Regions from separate parts of the Homo sapiens genome. Here region 1 is linked to region 2. The links are contacts of gene promoters, found by promoter capture Hi-C in blood cells and fetal thymus (Javierre and others, 2016). All regions are on one chromosome and are shown on one strand. Each heading gives the region's core, a stretch centred on a gene start or on the middle of the fragment in contact. The rest is flanking DNA. Distances are from core to core; before and after follow the strand shown. Region 1 has its middle 4.6 kb from the start of TAMM41. Region 2 holds the start of MKRN2 (makorin ring finger protein 2).

Evidence for each region. The method cuts DNA at HindIII sites, captures the fragments that hold promoters and counts their contacts. A CHiCAGO score of 5 or more calls a contact.
Region 1: a contact is called between a fragment that was not itself captured here and the fragment with the promoter of MKRN2 in region 2, in 1 of 17 cell types (naive CD8 T cells). The highest score is 5.3, in naive CD8 T cells.

The regions. Positions count from the first base shown.
Region 1 is chr3:11,849,072-11,853,983 of GRCh38, reverse strand. No RefSeq gene overlaps it. Among named protein-coding and RNA genes, the nearest start is that of TAMM41, 4.6 kb to the right of the region's middle. The HindIII fragment of the contact is 202 bases long and covers 2,235-2,436 here.
Region 2 is chr3:12,555,412-12,560,641 of GRCh38, reverse strand. MKRN2 (makorin ring finger protein 2) reads right to left here and starts at 3,555. Exons shown (of 8, transcript NM_014160.5): 1 at 3,466-3,555. The coding sequence starts at 3,491. It also overlaps a transcript of MKRN2OS not described here. RefSeq lists enhancers at 2,836-2,895, 2,805-3,328, 3,716-3,775, 3,826-3,935 and a silencer at 3,456-3,545. The HindIII fragment of the contact is 4,764 bases long and covers 1,921-5,230 here.

The DNA of each region.
Region 1 (4,912 bases), core at 1,086-3,585, 710 kb after region 2:
ATATCACTTCCTAACAGGCCCAGGAAGCTCAAGATATTTTGGGACCCCAAAAAGAGAGGAATTTACCCAGGTGAAAGGTGTCATTGGTAAGTGGCAACTATCTGAGCTGGTGGCGTGGGGGTAAGAAGGCTTTACCAAGACAGTTGTAGGTAAAGAAAGGCAGATTTAGTAGAGAAAGTATGAAAGTACATTGCAAAGGAGCAACAGGCAGAATCAGCAAGAGAGAAGCTGACTGCAAGGAAACAAAGGCTTGCTGGAGATTTTATAGGATGGTTCTTTGCTGTGTACTGAAAAGAGCTTTGTGCAGTATTGATAACGCCAAGGTTACAGCGAGCTGTACAGGTGTCTAGTGATAAGTTGGGCACAGGAGGGCTACGTGTCCTGGACCACAAAGAAAGGCAGACTCATAGCTTATCTGCTTTCTTTCTTTCTTTGCTTTCCCGTGCTCTCACCAGCCTAACTCCTTTTCTCTAATTAGGACTTCACAAAAGGGTTACCCTGGAGGTTTGGAAAGTGTCATTCTAAACGCTTTGTAGGAAGTAAGTCTAGGAAGATTGTACCTAGAGTTTTGTCAGTTCTGGGTCTGAACAAAGACATCCTCAGAGTCCAAAGCGTAGAAATTCTTGGCTTTTTACACCCACAAGTTATAACCGTAATTCATGTGTTGAGAAATTCCCCAATCTCTCTCTTAGGCTATAGGATCCCCTGGTGCCTTCAGGCAAAAGAGGTCCGTGAAAATTAGTCTTGATTGGTTTGGGACACTGAGATGATTCTGGGACAGCAAGGGAGTGCTTGGCACCAGCGCTTCCTAAATTTATGCCACAGAATATGAATCCCAGAAGACACTGAGAGAGAAGGTGGAGGGAGCAGAGGATGGAGGAAAACCTAGTCTGGGAGATTGGAAAATGCTACATGTTCTGCTTCTCTCTTGGAGATTCACAATGCTTATTAATATATTAATGCTCGGAGGAATCCCACATCAAAGATCTCGATTTGCCTCTGTTTAATCCAGAATTTCCCAAACTTAGCTGATAGAATTTTTTATCAAATAACCCTCCTTGGGACAAGCTGCTTTACACCAAACCCAGATCGCAGGGGTTCATGCCAGAGACAGACTTGGTATATGGTAACTAATTCTTTCTCTTCTAACTCAGTTCTTTGCCAATTCAGTTTCTCCCAAAATTCAGGGCCAGTTCTACAGAGAGATAAAGTGGGCAGCTGCTGACCAGCTTGAATTTCAGGGATAGTGGAGAATCAGAAGGGTAAACACATACGTAGTACTCACTACATGTCAGAGATTGATCTAACCAGCTTAGTTGTCATGACAACTCTGGGAGGTAGACGCTCTTATTATCCCCATTTTATACTTGTGGAAACTGAGACACAGAGCCAACTTGCACCAGGTCACACAGATCATCAGTGGCTGAGAATTGAAACCAAGCAGTCTCAATCCAGATTCCACATTCTGCCTCTCAGATGAGATACCTGCTCTGTTCTTTGGAATTCCACCATTATTTATTCATTTCTTTGGTACTGTAAAAGTCCATGGTCTTCCTGAACTCCACTGGAAAACTCAGTGTCCCCCTAGAAGGAGGATTCTAAGACCCAGTATGGAGGCAATTCTTTCTTCTTAGAATTTTTTCACGGTGTACTCTCTGGTGAACTGCTGGTCATCTTCCAAGGTCTAATCCAAATGTCATCCCTCTAAGAAGCTTTCCCAGAAACCCTGAAGAAAAAGTAACCCCTGCTGTCTTACCATTGCGGTGGTATAGATCTGGTTTATACTCTCCATAGTGTATTTTTTTTTGCATGCATGTGAATTTTTTGCCACCAGACTATAACATTTGCAAATGCAGAAATTTTGTTTCAGGCACTGTACTAGGCACTAAAGGACAGAAAGATTAATAAGATATGGTTCCTGACCTCAAAGGGCCCCTAAGCCTTTTATAATTGTACTTGATGGACATATCTGATATTTAAGACAAGAGCTAGAGAGCTAAAAGCAAAGGGTTAGGAAGGCACAGAGAACAGAACACTTTGATAGCTGAGCTGGGACTAAAGGATGAGGAAGGTTTCAATGGGAGAATGAATCAATGAATGAATGGGTCCCTTGGTGAAATGAACACCCCGTGTTATTTTTCTCGTGCAAGAGGAAAGGGATTGGACTTGGAGGCTGTATTAGCAGCTGCCATTAGCCCTGTGACTTCAGGCACATCAATTCTTTTTTCTAAGCTTCAGTTTATCCATCTGTAAAACTGAAATAGTAGCTACTAATTTCCCAGGATTTGTTTTAAGAGCTAAATAAAATCATGTCTGCAAAGTGCTTTGTGTAAAATGCTAAACGCCATAAAGATGTAGGTATAATTATGCTTCTTAATTCCTTTTGTACATTGTCTCTTAAGAATTCAGGAGGATGTCCTCCGTTTATTGAAAGCTTACTCCAGGCACTATTCTATGTACTTTCTAGATACTGTTTCATTTGCTGTCACAACAACCCTGTGAGTGAGGTGTCATTACTCTCCCCAGGCTGCAGATGAGGAAAGGAAAGCACAGAGAGGCTAAGTCTTCTTGTCCAAGGTCACACAGCTATTAAATCCTGGGGCCTGGATTCCAACCCAGGTGGTACCTTCAAGCCCCTGATCAGACACTAAAGATGTATTAAGATGCTCTCAGTTGGCTGGGCATAGTGGCTCACGCCTGTAATTCCAGCACTTTGGGAGGCCTAGGTGGGTGGATTGTTCGAGCTCAAGGGTTCAAGACCAGCCTGGACAACATGGTGAAACCCCATTCTCTACAAAAATACAAAAATTAGCCTGGTGTGGTAGTACATGCCTGTAATCCCAGCTACTCAGGAGGCTGAGGTGGGAGGATCACTCGAGCCTGGGAGGCAGAGGTTACAGTGAGCCGAGATCGTGCCACTGCACTCCAGCCTGGGTGACAGAGTGAAACCCTGTCTCAAAAAAAAAAAAAAAAAAAAAAGAAAAGAAAAGAAAAAAAGAAAAGAAAAGAAAGAAAAGAAAAGAAAAAACGAAAAAATGCTCCCAGTCTGTCCCAGTTCTAACCATCAATCAGCCGAGAATGGACAAATGGGACAGGGTGACCCACCTCTGACAAGATGGAGATCAAGACCCCTCTCCTTCCCCTCCATCAGCAGACCAATTGAACATGTGGCTAATTGTAAGAACCACTGAGCCTGGATTTTTATTCTTCCCCAAACATTTTTCTCTCCTGTACTTAAACACTGATTAGAAAAAAAAAAAAAAAGCATTAAAGCCATAGATGTTTTTTTACAGGGCTTTAAAAAAAATGGATTACATGGATTCGATGAACCTTCTCCTAGTGAAAGCCTGACAAGGTCATTATTAAGGAATACAAAGACAACTGCTAGATAAATCAGAAGAATGAGGCCCAATATTCACTCGAGTCACCAGGCATTTATCTATATTTGTAAGTGGCTCTCTAACATGTTTATTTCATTGGTATAAGCTTTCCAACAGAACCCTAAAGCGATTATATAGAACACTGGGTCTTCCTAATAGCCTCTAATTTCACAAGCCATGGTAATTTAAAAGAGAGTGGGTGGATGAAGGGCCAGGAGCAGGGAGATTTCTGCTGAAGAATACAAATGTGTTCGTGGCTACGTTGCTTCTGCCTCTTTCTGGGGAAAGGCAAAATGCACACAGGAATGTGATGGAACCTTCCAGCTGGTGGTTTTGCATTGCAGGAAGAAAAGTGTTTGTGAACATGAAAATTGCTGATAATTGGGTGTGAACGCCTGTAAGGGAGACAAATGGAGAAACATTGCAGCATCTTTATTTCTATCAAGGGCTGAACTCTGCTGGTGGGTGTGTGAATTGGCACCATCTTTTGGAGGGGAATTTAGCAGCGTGCTGACACTCTGACCCAGCAATTCCCCTTCTAGGAATCTGTCTTATAGCAATACTTGTTCATGCACATAAAATGTACAAGGATGCTCATGATAGCATTGTTTGCAGGTGTGAAAACTAGAAATAACCTACATCCATCAACAATAAAATGTTTAAACAGGCCAGGATGCCTGTAACCCCAGCACTTTGGGAGGCCGAGGCGGGTGGATCACTTGAGGTCAGGAGTTCGAGACCAGCCTGGCCAACATAGTGAAACCCCTGTCTCTACGAAAAATACAAAACTTAGCCAGATGTGGTGGCGGGCACCTGTAATCCCAGCTACTCAGGAGGCTGAGGCAGGAGAATCACTTCAACCCGGATGGTGGAGGTTGCAGGGAGCCTAGATTGTGCCACTGCACTCCAGCCTGGGTGACAGAGCAAGACTCGCTCTCAAAAAAAAAAAAAAAAAAAGAAAGAAACAAAAGAAAAGAAGAAAGAAAGAAAGAGAAAGAAAATGTTTAAACACTTTCTTTTAAACAAAAAATTTTAAACAAAATTATGGCATATCCATATCTTAGAATAATTTGCTACTAATACATGGAATGAGGGAAATCTATATATTCTGACACAGAACATTGTCCCTGATACGCTAAGTGCAAAAAAAGCAAATTGCAAAATAGTATCTATCCTAGGAATCCACTTAAAATTGTTTTTAATGTTAATATATTCATAGAAAAATATTGGAAGGAATATGTGCCAAAGATTACCGTGGCTATTTCTGGGGCATGATGTATGTATTTCATAATGTTTACATTTTTATGAACATGGATTACTTTTGCAAACAGGAAAAATCCAATGACGTTGAATTATTTCCCCAAGGGAAGGAAGGAAATAAAAAAGGAACCGGCTGGTAATGAGATTTATTCACTGTCTTTGGGTGAGAGGCTTCAGTGTAATTCCACGGTGAGTGCACTCTGATTCCGGCACCCTGGGCAAGGGCGATATGTAGTAAAAATGAACGGAAGTGACCATGCCCACACCAGGGG
Region 2 (5,230 bases), core at 2,306-4,805:
ACAGAACCACCAGCAGCTCCAGCAGCAGCAGTGCTAAGCAAAACAATCAATCTGGTTTCTTACAGGCCCTTGAATGTTGCCTGTTTAGCAAAACGCTTTTGCAAATCACTTCCAAGTATACAGGTAATTTGCATCCTCAGTGTCTTTTTTTTTTTTTTTTTTTACATTTTCCTACATATTTTCACAGGCTAAAATTTTACGGCTATACTCCTTGTGACAGCAGATCCACTGAGGGGGAAGGAAGCAAATGGTAGGCACTGTGGCAGGCTTGCAATAAATGTACTGATTAGAGGCGGGAATGAAATGAAGTACAGTGTGGTGGTGAAGACACTGAAGTCAGACTGCTTGCTATGTGAGCTTAAGCAAGTTATTTAAGTCACTGAGCCTCAGTTTCCCCATCTGTAATGTGATTATAATAACTGCACTTACTTCATAGACTGCTATGATAGACTACTGGGACATTTAACTGAGAAAATGCATGTAAGTGCTCATCCTAATACAAAATAAATGGTTTGTTGCTATTATTTAATTTTTAAACAGCCCTGCCGGTTAGGCATTACCATCCTCATTTCACAGATGAGGCAGTTGTTGCACAGGTGGTACCAGGATTAGAATCCAGAACTGCCCAACCCTGGGGCTCAAACTCTTCCTACCACCTGCCAGCTGAAAAGATCCCCCATGTTTTGTGACTTTCAAAGAATCAAAAGCCCCCTAGGTTTGACTATCTTAGGACAATGAAATCCTGTGTCTTCTAATAGTGATTATGAGATGCAGGGAAGCTCTATCACAAGAGGAGAAGGTGAAATAAACTGGTTACTAAGCTATAATAAGGGCCTCCCCCAGGGCTCCGAAAACAGACTGGAAGACAGGGAGATGGTTGTGGGGGAGGGGAATCAGCAAAAAGGCACAGATTGAGATTCTGGATAGAGCGGCATGTCAAGGAATCAGAAGAGCTGACTGACAGCATAACTGTACGAGCAGTCATTTTTACCACTCCAGGCAATAAAAACATGGAGTGTCTTTGTCATTAGGTTTGAGACTCCTAGCATTTGATAAGCAACTCTTGGAGATACATAATATCTAACAGATTGGAAGCAAAACTGACATTATTCTGCTGTCATTCAAAATAAACATGTACATCACATCCCACAGTCAGGAAAACAAACCTAAAACTTTGTGACCTGAGATTAAAAAAAACAAAAAAACAAACAAAACCCACAAAAAACCGCACACGCTGCTTAGATCTGGTCCCCAAAATAAATCATACCTTGAACATTTCCTATAAATTATCAATGTCTAGAGACAAGGCTTTTGTTAATGAGATAATAAAGTGAGAAAAGCTTTTGGTAGATAAGCTGGTAGAAAAGTTGATGGTAGATAAACACACTAATGTAAACTTGGTACTCTTGGTCATATTGGTTTTTTCCCACTTAAAACACCTGTTATGTTTTTTATTTGGCAAGGCAGTCATCGGGAGCCCTGACTCCTTTACACCCTTTTGTGAGTAAACTTCTTTGCAGTTTTACATATCCTTGTATGAGTTTCCTTTCATGGGAACACATTAAAAGCTTTGATAAGTCCTGCAATAAATAAATTTTAATTTAGCATTTCAAAACTTATCTGGAGGCCCTACAGTCTATGAGGGCATGAACTTTGATTTCACACCTCTGTCACTTGGAAGCTAAATGACCTTAGGCAAGTCGCTTCAATGCTGAGGCTCAGTTTTACGATCTGTGGAAGAGCGCTGGTTGCTGGATTATACACTACAGTACCTAAGAGCCGCAGCACATTGTAAGTCCCCAACAAACATGACTAAACACTTAAACAGAAGTGATCCCTTCTCAACATTCCAACCCAATCTTCATTTATATGGAGCAACATCCTACAGAACACCCCTGTTTGGGAAACAGAATTAAAGCTTTCAAGTCAAGCTATCTCCAGGTATACAAGGAAAAAACCAAGATGATCCTGATTTAGGTCCTTGTGCCTCTACTAAGGTGTAAAATTTTAGGCAAATTTCAAGTCTTTCTGAGCATAAGATTCCTTATTTGTAAAATAAGATACTACAGAGTTGAGATTCAATTATAAAGCATTATTACATAAATGTGTACTGTTTTGTGGACACTTCTTAGATGAGGTACGGGAATAAATGGTAGAATTAAACCATAGAGCGAGGGGAGGAATACAGAGGTTTTTCTAGGAGGCTACAAGCTGCTTTACAGTGCACAATGACCTAGGAATACTTCCTCCAGCAGGAGAAACTTTATACAAATAAAAATACGTAAACACACACAAACCCGTCTTCACAAAACACCTTCTAGTACAAATAACCTAGTAAAAGTCTTTTTATAGACACTAGGTGCAAATTTCTGACAACAGCTTAACATAAGCCACCTGGGCCTTGGATAAATTGAACAGTAAATGTACACTAATGCTAACAGAAAACTTACTACACAGTCACGTCTCAACTATTCATACCAATGAAGAGAAGTAACAACATAGAAAATAAACTGTTTATTACACAAACTCTATAACTGTTTTTAAGCAATGTTTCCCATAAAAATTATTAAATGAAATTTGCATTTTCCAAGCATACAATTCAATTTGCGTTTTCCAAACATACAATTCAATAGGACTAGACTCCATTACCAGTAAGCCACAAGCTGACCAAGCAATGAGGGTGTTACACAACCACACTATTCTATTTCATAGGAGCAGTCGTAGTGTAGCTATCTGGCTATTTTCTACAATAAACCATCCATTACCGTCGCATTTCTCCTCGTAAATGGCTCTCTCAGTAAGATAAATGAGTGTCAACGTCTTTCGGTCTCAGTTTCCTGCACTGTAAAATGGTAATAATAACTACTAAGTTGTCTTACTGTGAAGTCTGATGATAATGAATATAAAGGACTTGGAAATATGCAGGGCGCTTCGCCGATATTCACAATATGCTACCTGTCGTTATTTTCCACACAACAACTTTTACTTGTTAACTCTCTGCAAGTTTAGATTGCATCTGGATTCTCCAAACTTTGAGGCCCTCATAATCGATTAACAAATTACTCCTATGTGGTATCCCCATTTGTAACCGTCCTCTCGGCGTCCCTTTACTCAACTTCAAATCTTTTCCAGTTAAAGCGTAAGCCCCAGAGCCTTCCCGACAGCGCCCCGGCATCCTGCACGGCCCTGGCTAGGACGTCCTTCCTCCCAGCCCACAGGGGCCACGCTTCAAACTCGGGGCGTAGCCCCCCGCGCTGGCCTCGCCCAGCGTCTCGGCCACGCATCCCCCGGATCCCCGGCTGTGGCGGCAGCGCTCGCTCTGCCTCGCAAAGCCCCGCCGCGAACAGCCGAGTAACTTTCCGAGTCCCGCTCTAGCCTCAGGTTCCCGGACCACAGCACTGGCGCGCACCGGCCCCCCTGCGGCCTGGGGGAGCGGCCCGAAGCTCCTGGCTCCAGCGCACTGACCTGCAAGTGATCTGCTTGGTGCTCATGGTGGCTGGGCTGAGGGACCGTCGTCGTGCCGCCGCCTCTCGCAGCCGCTGCCGCCTCGGCCTTGGCCCTGGCCCGGCCCATCCCGCGTAGCCGCGTCACGCCGGCGCACGCCGGCGCACGCCGCCCCTCCGGTGTGGCACCTTTGTAGCGCCGGCGGGTAACCTAGCCGTCGTCACAATTGGTTCCGCACCGGGGATCGGGCCGGCTGTCCCGGCATCCCTGCTCTCGGTGTCCCGCACTTCCAAGCCTCCGGGGCGGAGCCTGGCTGGCATCTTAGTCCTGCCAGTCTTATCCCGATGCCTACTGTTAGTGCCTGCGATTCTGCCCCGATCGCCAAGAGTATTCCTTAGGGATCTCCCGCCTCCTTCGAGGCACTTCACCACTCCTGGGGAAACTCCAGCCTCTCCTCTTAATCCCGGATGCCCCTATCCATTCATACTCGCACTCACTGGGCACCCTTCTCAGGCCCTGCCTCAACTGTTCCCGCCGGACCTCGCCTCCCACTTAAGGAAATTCCTTAGCTCTCTCCCAACTGCTCTTTCCCCAAATCTCTACTTCCACAAGTTTTAGTCTTCATTTTCTTTCCTGCCAGTCTTGTGCTGCTCGTCTTCCATTTCCTATGGTGGAAACCCCAAAAGTTATTTTTGACACTTCCCTCTAGCTCTCTATACCCTGCAGATTCTGCTCCCACACCTCTGTCCAATGCGTCCTCTTCTGCCCCCTTTCCACCGTCCCTTCTACCTAGCACCATGCGATACCTTTTTTTTTAATTATTATTATTTTATTTTTTATTTTTTTGAGACGGAGTTTCTCTCTTGTTGCCCAGGCTGGAGTGCAGTGGGGCGATCTCGGCTCACTGCAACCTCCGCCTCCCGGGTTCAAGCGATTCTCCTGCCTCTCAGCCTTCCACGTAGCTGGAATTACAGGCGTGCACGCCTGGCCAGCCATGCGATAGCCTTTTAACTGGTCTTCTGGCTTCCGTTCCTGGTAAAAATCTATTTTTAAAACATAAATCGGATCATGTCATTCACCTTTTAATCTTACAATGGTTTCTCATTGCTTAAAAACTCGAGATACATAACATGCACAATATAAGTGCACCAAACACATTCTATGAATTTTTGCACATGCATACACTCATGAAACTACCACCCAGATCAAAATAAAGAATTTTTTGTTTTGTTTTGAGGCAGGGTCTTGCTCTGTCGCCCAGGCTGGAGTGCAGTGGCGCCATCATAGTTCAAGCAGTCCTCTGCCTTAACCTCCCCAGCAGCTGGGAATACAGGTGCGCGACACCATGCTCGACTAAACTTCAAAATGCTGGAGTAAGGAGAGGTTGAGCCGGAAGGATCCTTTGAGCATAGTTCACTGCAGTCGAGGCTGCAGGGGGTGGGTGGGGGCTGGATATTATCGACACCCCAGAAGGGCTTCCTTATGGTCCTTCCCAGGCAATACTTTACAAAGGTCATTGCTTGGGTTCATCTCTATCACTATAAATTAGTTTAACTGTTCTTGACTTTCATATAAATAATAATTCAGTACCTACGCTTTTGTCTGCCTTCTTTTGACCAACATTTTATCTGTGAGATCTTTCCATGTTATGTATGTATAGCTGTATGTTCTTTTTTTACTTTGCTATAAAAATATTGAGTCTTCCAATGAATGAGCATGGTATATACTTCCAATTATTTAGAACTTTTGAAATTTTTCTCAGGAATTTGGAAGTATACTGGAAATT